3 separate regions of the Homo sapiens genome follow, and regions 2 and 3 are each linked to region 1. The links are contacts of gene promoters, found by promoter capture Hi-C in blood cells and fetal thymus (Javierre and others, 2016). All regions are on one chromosome and are shown on one strand. Each heading gives the region's core, a stretch centred on a gene start or on the middle of the fragment in contact. The rest is flanking DNA. Distances are from core to core; before and after follow the strand shown.

Region 1 (3,206 bases), core at 60-2,559:
GAGTAGCTGGGATTACAAGCATGCGTCACCACGGTCGGCTAATTTTGTATTTTTAGTAGAGACGGGGTTTCTCCACGTTGGTCAGGCTGGTCTCGAACTCCCGACCTCAGGTGATCCGCCCGCCTAGGCTTCCTAAAGTACTGGGATTACAGGCATGAGCCACCACCCTCCGCCGGAAGAAACGTTTTTCCTGCATTTTGAATAAAGGGGCCTGGATTTTCATTTTGCACTGTACCCCAGGTATTATGTAGCTGGACTTGAAGTCCTGTAGCAGTGGACAGTCCCAGGCAAGTGACTCTGGGCGAGGCACTTGGTGCCTCTGAAGTCACTTTCCACATCTGTAAAATAATAGTTCAGAGCAGAGTAGGGTGGCTCACTCCTGTAGTCCTAGTTATTTGGAAGGCTGAGGTGAGAGGATGGCTTGAGCCCAAGAGTTTGAGGCTGCAGTGAGCTATGACTGTGCCACTGCACACCAGCCTGGATGACAAAGAGAGACTGGGTCTCTAACAAAATAATATTAATAAAAGGAAAATAATTTCTATCTTGTTGGATTTCTGTGGAGATTTGGAGCTAATTTATGTAAAGCTCTTGGACCACCATTTGACACATTTTAATGGTCAATACTAGAAGGTGTTGACAATTATATATTACCTAATTCAAACACACTCCCTTACGTCTCCTATGCTTGCCGGCTAATAAACAGCCATTCCCACAGGCAGTACCAAATGTGTATCCTGGTTTTGCTTCAAATGTTTATTCCCTAAATTTAAACCCTTCTATAGTGTGCAGGAAAAAAATGTCCGCACCTCAGCTATAATGTCAGGTTGTAACAAAAAACTGCGAGGATTTAAAAAGGTGTGCTTGTTAGAAAAGCAGAAATCTTCACAAATACTAGATTTAAAAAAATGGAAGCAAAAAATCGTTCATTCAAGTGATCATTTCAGAAGAGCTCTTTCACCGCCGTTCAGCGCCCCCCTAGCCATTAGAGAGAAAAACCAAGGCCGGTACAATGCGAGCGCAGTGTACCAAGGGAACACACACACACACACACACACACACACACACACACACACACACACACAAACCGAATCTTGAAAAACTAGACGTTGCCCAGCTACCAGCCCCCGTCTGGTTTCCATAGGAACGCGCAATTCCGTTGCGTAGCCCTCTGCGCCGGTAGTTGTTCTGTCTCAGTTCCGGTTTTCCCTTCCAAGCGTCAATGTTTCTTGTTCCCAGGCGGCAGCTAGAGCAGAAGGCGGATGAGTTTTGGACAGAAGAGGCTTCCGTTGAGGGGCGTGGCGACGCAGCCGCGGTCTGAGAGACCGGTTCACGTGCAGGCAGCGGCGGATCATATTCCTTCATCTACCATGGCTCAGCCGGGAACTCTGAACCTCAATAACGAGGTGAGCGCCGAGGAACCTATGGGGCTGACTTTAAGGGTCCTCAAAACCAGCTCTTTTGAGACGCGTGGTCGGAGGCGGGCATAGAGGGTGCGGTTGGAGGAACTTTCGTGGTGGGCCCAGGCGGGTTTCCCGCAACTTGGAGTTTGGCAACCGGTAATTTCCCTTTTCGGTCTCCAGGTGACTAAAGTGAGAGACATGTGTCAGGCCCCACGAATTTATGTCTGTGGGACTTTGGGAAGAACCTTTAGCCTGTACGTTCAATATTCTCGTCTGTAAAGCGGAACTCAAGATAGTTCGTCCCAGGGTTGTGAGATTAACTGAGATACGTAAAGTATTTGCAAGTGCCTGACCCTTAATAAACTTTCAGTACACATTACCTGCTCTTTATTGCCTGTCGAAAATGAAAGAGAGAAAGTAAGAGCTGTAGCTTCTAAGAAATTGGTGGTCTTGAATGAGACTGTATGCTCAGTACTTCGTTTCCTCTTCCAGTTAGTGTCCTATTTCTTTGCTTCCGTTTACAGCAGAACTTCAATAAAGAGCTGTTTATACTTGCTATCCTCAATTCTTTTTTCTGCTTTTTCAGTCCATTCTCATCAGACATTTGTTCTCACCACCGTCACTTCCATAGTGTGCGGTGTCGACAAAATACCATTTCTACCACTTATCCCCCTCTGGTTTCTGCTTCTATTCAACAAAATAATGTCATCCAAAGTCTTAAAGTAAGCTGGAAACATAAGGATCGAGTAAGGACCTCACAGTTAGATACAGAAAGGAAATTCTTTATCCCGTTTATGAGCAAGTCACTGTTTAGATTACACACAGTAGTGTAAGGGATATTTCATATTTTCTAGTAACCTATACTCAAGTAAGAGAGCTAAGCAACACTCACCTGTGTTACAGAACAATGTGTGAAGAATGCCTCCAAAACCTAGTAATGCAGAAAAGTTTCCAAAGGCGGCAAAATGAAATGGGTGATACTTGTCCTTGGTCTTTAGGGATCTTGCACAGGAATTGCAGTCAGTGATTCAGGAAAGGGGAAGAAGTCATTCCAGGCAGAGGGACTGGTATAAGCAGGAAAGGGCTAGTAGCAGAAGAACCCGTGGGTAATACAGGGATAAGTAACTCTTCACTGATGGGAACTTGTGAGATGAAGAAGGAAATAAAACTGAAATATATTCTCTGCTGCCAGATTAACGAGTCAGGATTTCAGTTGACAGTGGAGTACAGGATATGCTGAAGAGGGAAGCTGAAAGTAGTTACTATTTACTCATAAACATACATTAAGCTTGTGCTTTGTGCCAGAAAGCGTTTGGTGGGCTATTTTGCATTAGGTTACCTGTGATGTATGAAAGATCAGAGTAATGTCCCTGGGATTTCAACCCCAGGGAGCTTCATATCAAATTTTGTAATGACTTTGATGATGGAAATGACAGGGGATGAGTCATTAAAGACTCTTTTCACACTTAGCTAACTTTTGTTCTTCTTCAAAACAGTTAAAATTTGACCTTTAGGAAACCTTCATTAACTCCTCTCGGTCTGGGTTAGGTGTCTGTTCTTTGTGCACCCAGATTGCTTTCTCCTCTGGAAACACTTATGTAACTGTTTCTGTCTTCCTGTGTTTATGTGTCTATCATGTGTAGCACATATGTTTACTAGGTGATTACATGAATTTGTGAAAGCAGGAACTACACACATCCACCACTGAAGTCTAGTGTGTTCTAATGTGAAGGAGATAAAAAGGACAGAAAAAAGTGGAGATGATGGAGGATATTATAATTTAAAATTAGTGGGAAAAAAAACCCA
Region 2 (3,495 bases), core at 800-3,299, 5.5 Mb after region 1:
GTCTCATGAAACAATCAATAATTTTTTCATTTTGAGGAAAAAATTTTCTATTTTCTATTGCTGAAATTAAATTTACATTGCTTAATGTTTTGTCAAATTTGGATTTGATGACCATAATAACATGGTATTACAGTTGAAGTTTTGATTTGATCATTATTCTTCCAAAGATAACATGGATGCAAAATTTCATTTCTTAAATTTGTTTTGACTTTTAAAAATGCTTACACAGTTAAGATTTTATGTTAGAATTTTGTACAAGTAGGATTTTTTACTGATTTTTAGTTGCTTCGTTAAGGAGAAATAAAATCTCATGACAAAATCAGACTGTTGGAGTGTCTGGCAGTAGTTACAACAGTTGCCAAGATATTTTTATGTCTGAAAACCAGAACAATTACCCTTAATATTGTAGTTTTATATTCTTACATCTTTGGCTGCTTGATTTGTTTTTCCAGCCAAAACCAGTGTTGGTGAGTAATGTAAGAAATGTGTCAGTAATCAGTCCTAACACCTTTTTCGTGTTTAATCTATATATGTTCCAGTGAGCATACCACTCGTCTACTGTTCTTTCTGATAGATGTTTCTAGTTATATAGGGCTTTACTTTGCCTATATTCAGGTAGAAGGGTTCTGATATTGATAAATGAAGAAGGCCCACATTATCTCTTTTCTTTTTTTTTTTTGAGATGAAGTCTCGCTCTTGTCCCCCAAGCTGGAGTGCAATGGCGCGATCTTGGCTCACTGCAACCTCCGCCTCCCGGGTTCAAGCGATTCTCTTGCCTTAGCCTCCTGAGTAGCTGAGATTACAGGCATTCGCAACCATGCCCGGCTAATTCTTGTATTTTTAGTAGAGACGGGGTTTCACCATATTGGTCAGGCTGGTCTCGAACTCCTGACCTCAGTTGATCTGCCCACCTCTGCCTCCCAAAGTGCTGGGATTACAGGTGTGAGCCACCGCACTGGGCCATATATTTAGCTTTACAACAAGAAGCACCTGTCTTCATTAGATAGTGGCAGCAGAAATCCCACATTCAGAACATGAACTTGGCTTCACTGACTCCTTCATAGATTCCAACTTCACAAACTTCATATTCATTTCCAAGAGTATTCTTACAAAGTCCATTTTATTTTGCTCCTCCAAATTTAATTGAAAATCATTGCTTCCTATAATGCTTCCTTGCTTCTCTTTGCCCAAATTTCTGAAAATATAGATCCCAGATTTGCCCATAGCTGCTAATTTTTATATTGCCCTGCTCAGATTTTCTGCCACAGTGACTTAGTTTTAAGCTTGTCTAGACTCTGATTTTGACTCTCAGATTAGATGTAAGAAGTTTAGATTGGAGGTACAGACCAGAAGACTAGGAAGGGTCTTGGGAATCATATTAAGCCCGTAAGTCAAGTAACACAAGTGTCTCATTTTAAAATTTAAAGGTAAATACTACCACTGAGAGTGATAGCTCACACCTGTAATCCCAGCACTTTGGAAGGATGAGGTGGGTAGATGGCTTGAGCCCAGGATTTCGAGACCAACATGGGCAACATAGAGAAACCCCCGTCTCTACAAAAAGATACAAAGAAATTAACCAGGTGTAATGGGGTGCACCTGTAGTCCCAGCAACTTGGGAGCCTGAGGTGAGAGGATCACCTGAACCCAGAGAGGTTGAGACCGCAGTCAGCCGTGATCGCAACACTGCACTCCAGCCTGGGTGACAGAGTGAGACCCTGTCTCAAAAAAGAGAAAAGGTAGATACTACCAAAAATATATAATCAACTGAAGTGAGATGGTAGCAGTCAGGAGAACCATGGGTGTATACTGGTTTCATCTTTTCTCATAGTAGGGAATCAATAGATGCTAATACATAAAGTTAAATATACAACATAAAGTAGTAGTTATAAATATAACCATTAGTACAAAAACATGAACTCTCCAAATTACCAGACAATACACACATATACAAAATATTATAGATGATATAACAAAAAATTATAAAAAGGAAAAAAATAACTGAAAACACAATATGAAATATAATATGAAATATATCAGATAAAAAGTAAACATATATGCCATATAAATAAAGGTAAGTAGATTAACTCCTCATTTTAAAAAGTCTCAAACTAAATCATAAAGCAAAATGTAATTATATTTTCAAATTCAAGATATGTATCTAAGATAAAATCACTCAGAAAAAATGAAAACAAAAGAATGAGTAAAGGCCTATCAGACAAATGTAAAGAAAATAATAAAGGATACAATCCACTTCAATGATCTCATCATTATGTATATCTATGAATAAAATAACCTCGTATCAACATACTTAAAGCAAAAATTACAGGAAACACAAGAGGAAATAGAAACACATTAGGTACAGGCAGTTTTAATGCCCATATCTCAGTTCATGACATAGCAAGTGAATAAAAAATAAGTTTGTAAATGGAACACATAAATAATGTAAGTAATAAGTTAAGTTTGCTAACTAATTGCTCTGCATGGAATTAAATTCCATGACTTCACATTCTTTTCACATACCCACAAAGCATTGGAGTAAACTGACCATATTTTAGACCACAAATAAAACCTTAGTCAATTTTTCAAAATTAGAAGATGAAAATATGAATATAAGAAGTAAAAATATTGTAAAGGAAGAGTAAATAAAAGCAAATCAATTCATAAGCTATTGGAAACAAGCCAGTTCAGTAAGGTGACTGGTTACAAAATTAATATTAAATAAATAGCCTTCCTATATGCAAGAAATAATCAACCATAAAATGTAATAAAAGACTCTATCAATAATGGCAAGAAAAAAGATTAAATACCTAAGAGAAGCTTATGAAAAATATTTGTCTATATTTCTGCCAGGCACAATGGCATGTGCCAGTAGTTCCAACTACTCAGGGGCTGAGGTGGGAGGATGACTTGAGTCCAAAAGTTCTAAGCCAGCCTAGTCAATGTAGTGAGACCCTATCTATAAGACAATATAAATTAAAATGAATCTTTTTAATCTATATTTTAAAATATAGGATCCCCATAAAAATACCATCTGAGTTTTATTTTAATATAGATGAGCTGATTTTAAAGATATAATAAATTTTGCTCTAGAAAAAATTTATATATGGCAACATGCACACACACACACACAAAGACAGAATTCATATCACAAAGAAGGCAAAATATTTGCAACATGCATTGCATATATAGGACTAATTTTCTTATGGTGTGAAGATCTCCCATAAACTAACTTTTAAAAATCAAGAAGATAATATAAGATGGAGATCACAGCAAAAGAAGCACAAATAACCTTAAACACATAAAATAATTTTACTCTTAATATGATAAACACACCTGTAAATTAGCAAAGATTCAAATCTTTGGTAACAAACTGTAGTTGGAGAAGAAGTAGGGAAGCAGGCACTCATAGTTCACTGGTGAGAGTATAAACTGGTATGACATCAATGCAGAGCGACTTGGCGATATCCATTGAAATTCCAAAGACACATATCA
Region 3 (3,421 bases), core at 591-3,090, 5.6 Mb after region 1:
TGGGGGCATAATCAGCCCTTCCCACTATGAAAATCATTAGTCTAGGTTGTTACTTACTTCTGATGGAACTACTTCTATATCTTCCTTAATGGCCTGTCTGCATCTGCTCTGTCTGCCCAGTGGCCCAGGCTGCATACTTTGTTCAGATCTTTTCAAAAAATAAATATGAATTGCTAATAACTGGAATCAGCCTAAATGTCCTTCAGCAGGTACATTTATACAATGGAATACTATTCAGCAATAAAAAGGAACCAATTTGATATATGCAGCAGCTTGGATGAATCTCAAGAACATTATGTTGAATGAAAAAAAGCCAACTTCAAAAGGTTATATGCTGTATGATTCGATTTATGTAACATTCATGGAACGAGAAAGTGATAGAAAACAGAGCAGTGTTTGCCAGGGCTTATGGTTGACGGGAAGGTAGATAAAGGAACAACATGAGGAAGTTTCTTTTTAGTGATGGAATGGTTCTATGTCCTGGTCGAGGTGGTGGTTATACGAGATTGTGCATATGATGAAGCTTCATAGAACTATGCACATACACACACACAGTAAATGTAAAAACATGTGAAATACAAATAAGATCTATAGTTAATAGTGTTGTACCAATGTCAGTTTCATGGTTTTGATCATTGTAGTGTAGTTATGTAAGATGCTGTTACTGAGAGAAGCTGGGTTTGGGGTACTCAAGAACTCTGCTGTTTCTACATTTTTTTTTTGAACCTAAAATTCCTTCAAAACAGTTAAAACAAAAGACAGTTATGCTACCCTCAGCTTGAATGCCTTACAGTTGTAGGATATGATAAATTTCTCTTCATAGATTTTAGCCTGTAAATTGTTAAGTACAATGAGTTCTGAGATCCTCTCCAAAGAACCAGTGTATCAGTATGTTCAGCTCCCCTGTTCTTTGTTCTTCATTTTAAAGTTTAAATTCCTAGTTCTTTATTTCTCCTTGCCCCCAGTTTCAGTAAACAATCCCCTTCTAGCCTCTATCAACTGCTCTGACCTTAGTCACCCTTGGTCACCTGCTCTGACCTTAGTAATCCTTGGTCATCTGCTCTGTTCTTAGTCATCCTGGATCACCTGTTCTGTAACCGTCCTTCCCGCCAAACTACTCACCCTGCTGCTCTGGCTCATACCCCTGCTCTCTTTAAAATAGCCAGTTGGAATTAGCTTAGACTGCGTGGTCCAACCCTAGCCAATGGGGGAAAGACACAGCAGTAGGGACTAGCTGCGTTAGGATAAGAACCCCTTCCCCTCCCTTGTTCAGGTGTGCTCTTGACATTGCTCCATCTGTGAGACACACCCTTCTATAGAAGTAAAATTGCCTTGCTGAGAAAATTAAATTTATGTTCGAGTGCTATTTCTTTTGTGGCACCGAAAATTTATTTCTAACACAGTGACACTCTGTTCTTTAAAAACCCAAGTTTTTTAACCTGGTTTATGAGGCTGAACACCTTCTGGGCTTCTGTCTGTCCCTCCAGTCCTGATTCTTCTTTCTCTCCCTTCACATGGATTTTATTGAATGTATCTTGTTCTTCCCAGCTCAGTTGGTATATATATTTGCTATATATTCACTTTTTCTGGACTCTGCCTTTCTTCCCTTGCCTAATTAAGTTCTTATCCTTCAAATCTCGGTTTATCTGTGACTTATTTGGGGAACCCTTTCCTTACCTCCAAGTCAAAATCATATTCCTGTCAAACAAAACTGTGTTCTTACCCTCAGAGCACATAATTCAGCTACCATTCATTGTAAATTGGTTTATTATTTGATTGTTTCGTGTACTAGACTGTAAGTATCCTATTTGTTTTTGCTAATCATTGTCATTTCCAAAGGCATCAGTATAGTGCTCGTCAAGCAGTTGACCTTCGCTAAAAACTTATTAAATGAATAAAAATATTAAAAACAAATATAGCATATTTAGAAGTTGGTTCTGTACTTGAGATACACTTCAGGATTTGTAATTTTAAAGAAAGTTTTCTCATATTTTATAATCCATTGTTGTCTATTAGGATGCTGCTATCTAATGGCATTTTTGCTATAGTTAACTTTTCTAAAACCTCAGATATACAATTTATCTGTTACTGGATATGCTTTAAAATGTGAACTAGGAAAATTGTGAATTAATGCTTTTATCAAGTGAAGCACATTTTATTTTATTTTATTGAGACAAGGTCCTGCTTTGTTGCCCAGGCTGGAGTACAGTGGCATTCTCACTGCTCCCTGCAGCCTCAACCTCCTGGGATCAGGTGATCCTCTCACCTCAGCATCCTGAGTTGCTGGGACCATAGGCACATGTCACCCTGCCTGGCTAATTTTTTAATTTTTTTGTAGAGATGGAGTCTTCCTATGGTGCCCAGGCTGGTCTCAAACTCCTGGTCTCAAGGGATCCTCCCACCTCTACCTCCCAAAGTGTAGGTTTACAGCGGTCAGCCACTGTGCCTGGCTTTATTTTTTTTTTATGTTAATGGGGTTATCTTATACACAGTACTTTATGAGAGAAGAGGAAGGGCTTCAAAAATACATTAAATATTTTATTTATTTATTTTTAGAGATCTTGCTCTGTCACGCAGGCTGGAGTGCAGTGGTGCAGTCATAGCTCACTGCAACCTTGAACTCCTGGGTTCAAGGCATCTTCTCATCACAGCCTCCCAAAGTCCTGGGATTTCAGACGTGAGCCACTGTGCCCAGCCTCATTTTTATTTTAAATTTAATAATGACTGAAATTTATATTATTTACTTATTTTATTTTTTAGAAATGAGATCTTGCTATGTTGCCCAGGCTTGTCTACAACTCCTAGCCTCAAATGCTTCCCGTCTTGGCCTCCCAGAGTGCTGGGATTATAGGCATGGGACACCACACCTGGCCCAGACATAACTATCTCTAACATGCATTCATGTGGCAGAAATCAAATTAGTAATTTACTATTTGAAATGTAGTAGATAATTAGTTATATTGTTATTATAACATGAAATTATTTCCCACTTATAAAGTATCTACATGGGAATGTTACAGATTGTTTGATATTAAATATTCTCATAGATTGCTTTCTTAGAAATTTGGACAAACTCTTCGTCTGGAAATAAGTTGCATTATAAACAGTAAAGGTGGACATCTATCTCTTGATGATTTTTTTTTTAGTCGTTCTCTATTCAAGCTTTAAAAATATACTTTTGGTTACTGTGTAATATTTGTTACATTTTTGTGTTTTTATAGTATACCATAATTGAAGAAAAATGATGGAAGAGAGTGGAATAGAGACAACACCACCTGGGACTCCTCCACCAAATCCTGCAGGGCTGGCTGCTACTGCTATGTCTTCTACCCCTGTTCCATTAGGTACATGTAGTTGTCTAACATCTCGTGTGTTTTGAGAATAGTGAAGATACTATCATCTTTTCTCAGAGTCAATTAAG

What was found. Contacts are between HindIII fragments. The CHiCAGO score rates a contact against its expected background, and 5 or more counts as called.
Region 2: a fragment that was not itself captured here is called in contact with the fragment with the promoter of SRFBP1 in region 1 in 1 of 17 cell types (total B cells); the score reaches 5.1 in total B cells.
Region 3: a contact is called between a fragment that was not itself captured here and the fragment with the promoter of SRFBP1 in region 1, in 3 of 17 cell types (total CD4 T cells, naive B cells and total B cells). The highest score is 9.4, in total CD4 T cells.

The regions. Positions count from the first base shown.
Region 1 is chr5:121,960,666-121,963,871 of GRCh38, forward strand. It overlaps SRFBP1 (serum response factor binding protein 1), which reads left to right and starts at 1,310. Exons shown (of 8, transcript NM_152546.3): 1 at 1,310-1,403. The coding sequence starts at 1,368. RefSeq lists enhancers at 963-1,501, 1,246-1,295. The HindIII fragment of the contact is 3,156 bases long and covers 1-2,686 here.
Region 2 is chr5:127,500,422-127,503,916 of GRCh38, forward strand. No RefSeq gene overlaps it. Among named protein-coding and RNA genes, the nearest start is that of PRRC1, 15 kb to the right of the region's middle. The HindIII fragment of the contact is 1,537 bases long and covers 1,282-2,818 here.
Region 3 is chr5:127,520,239-127,523,659 of GRCh38, forward strand. PRRC1 (proline rich coiled-coil 1) reads left to right here. Exons shown (of 9, transcript NM_130809.5): 2 at 3,222-3,344. The coding sequence starts at 3,242. Among named protein-coding and RNA genes, the nearest start is that of PRRC1, 4.3 kb to the left of the region's middle. The HindIII fragment of the contact is 2,639 bases long and covers 522-3,160 here.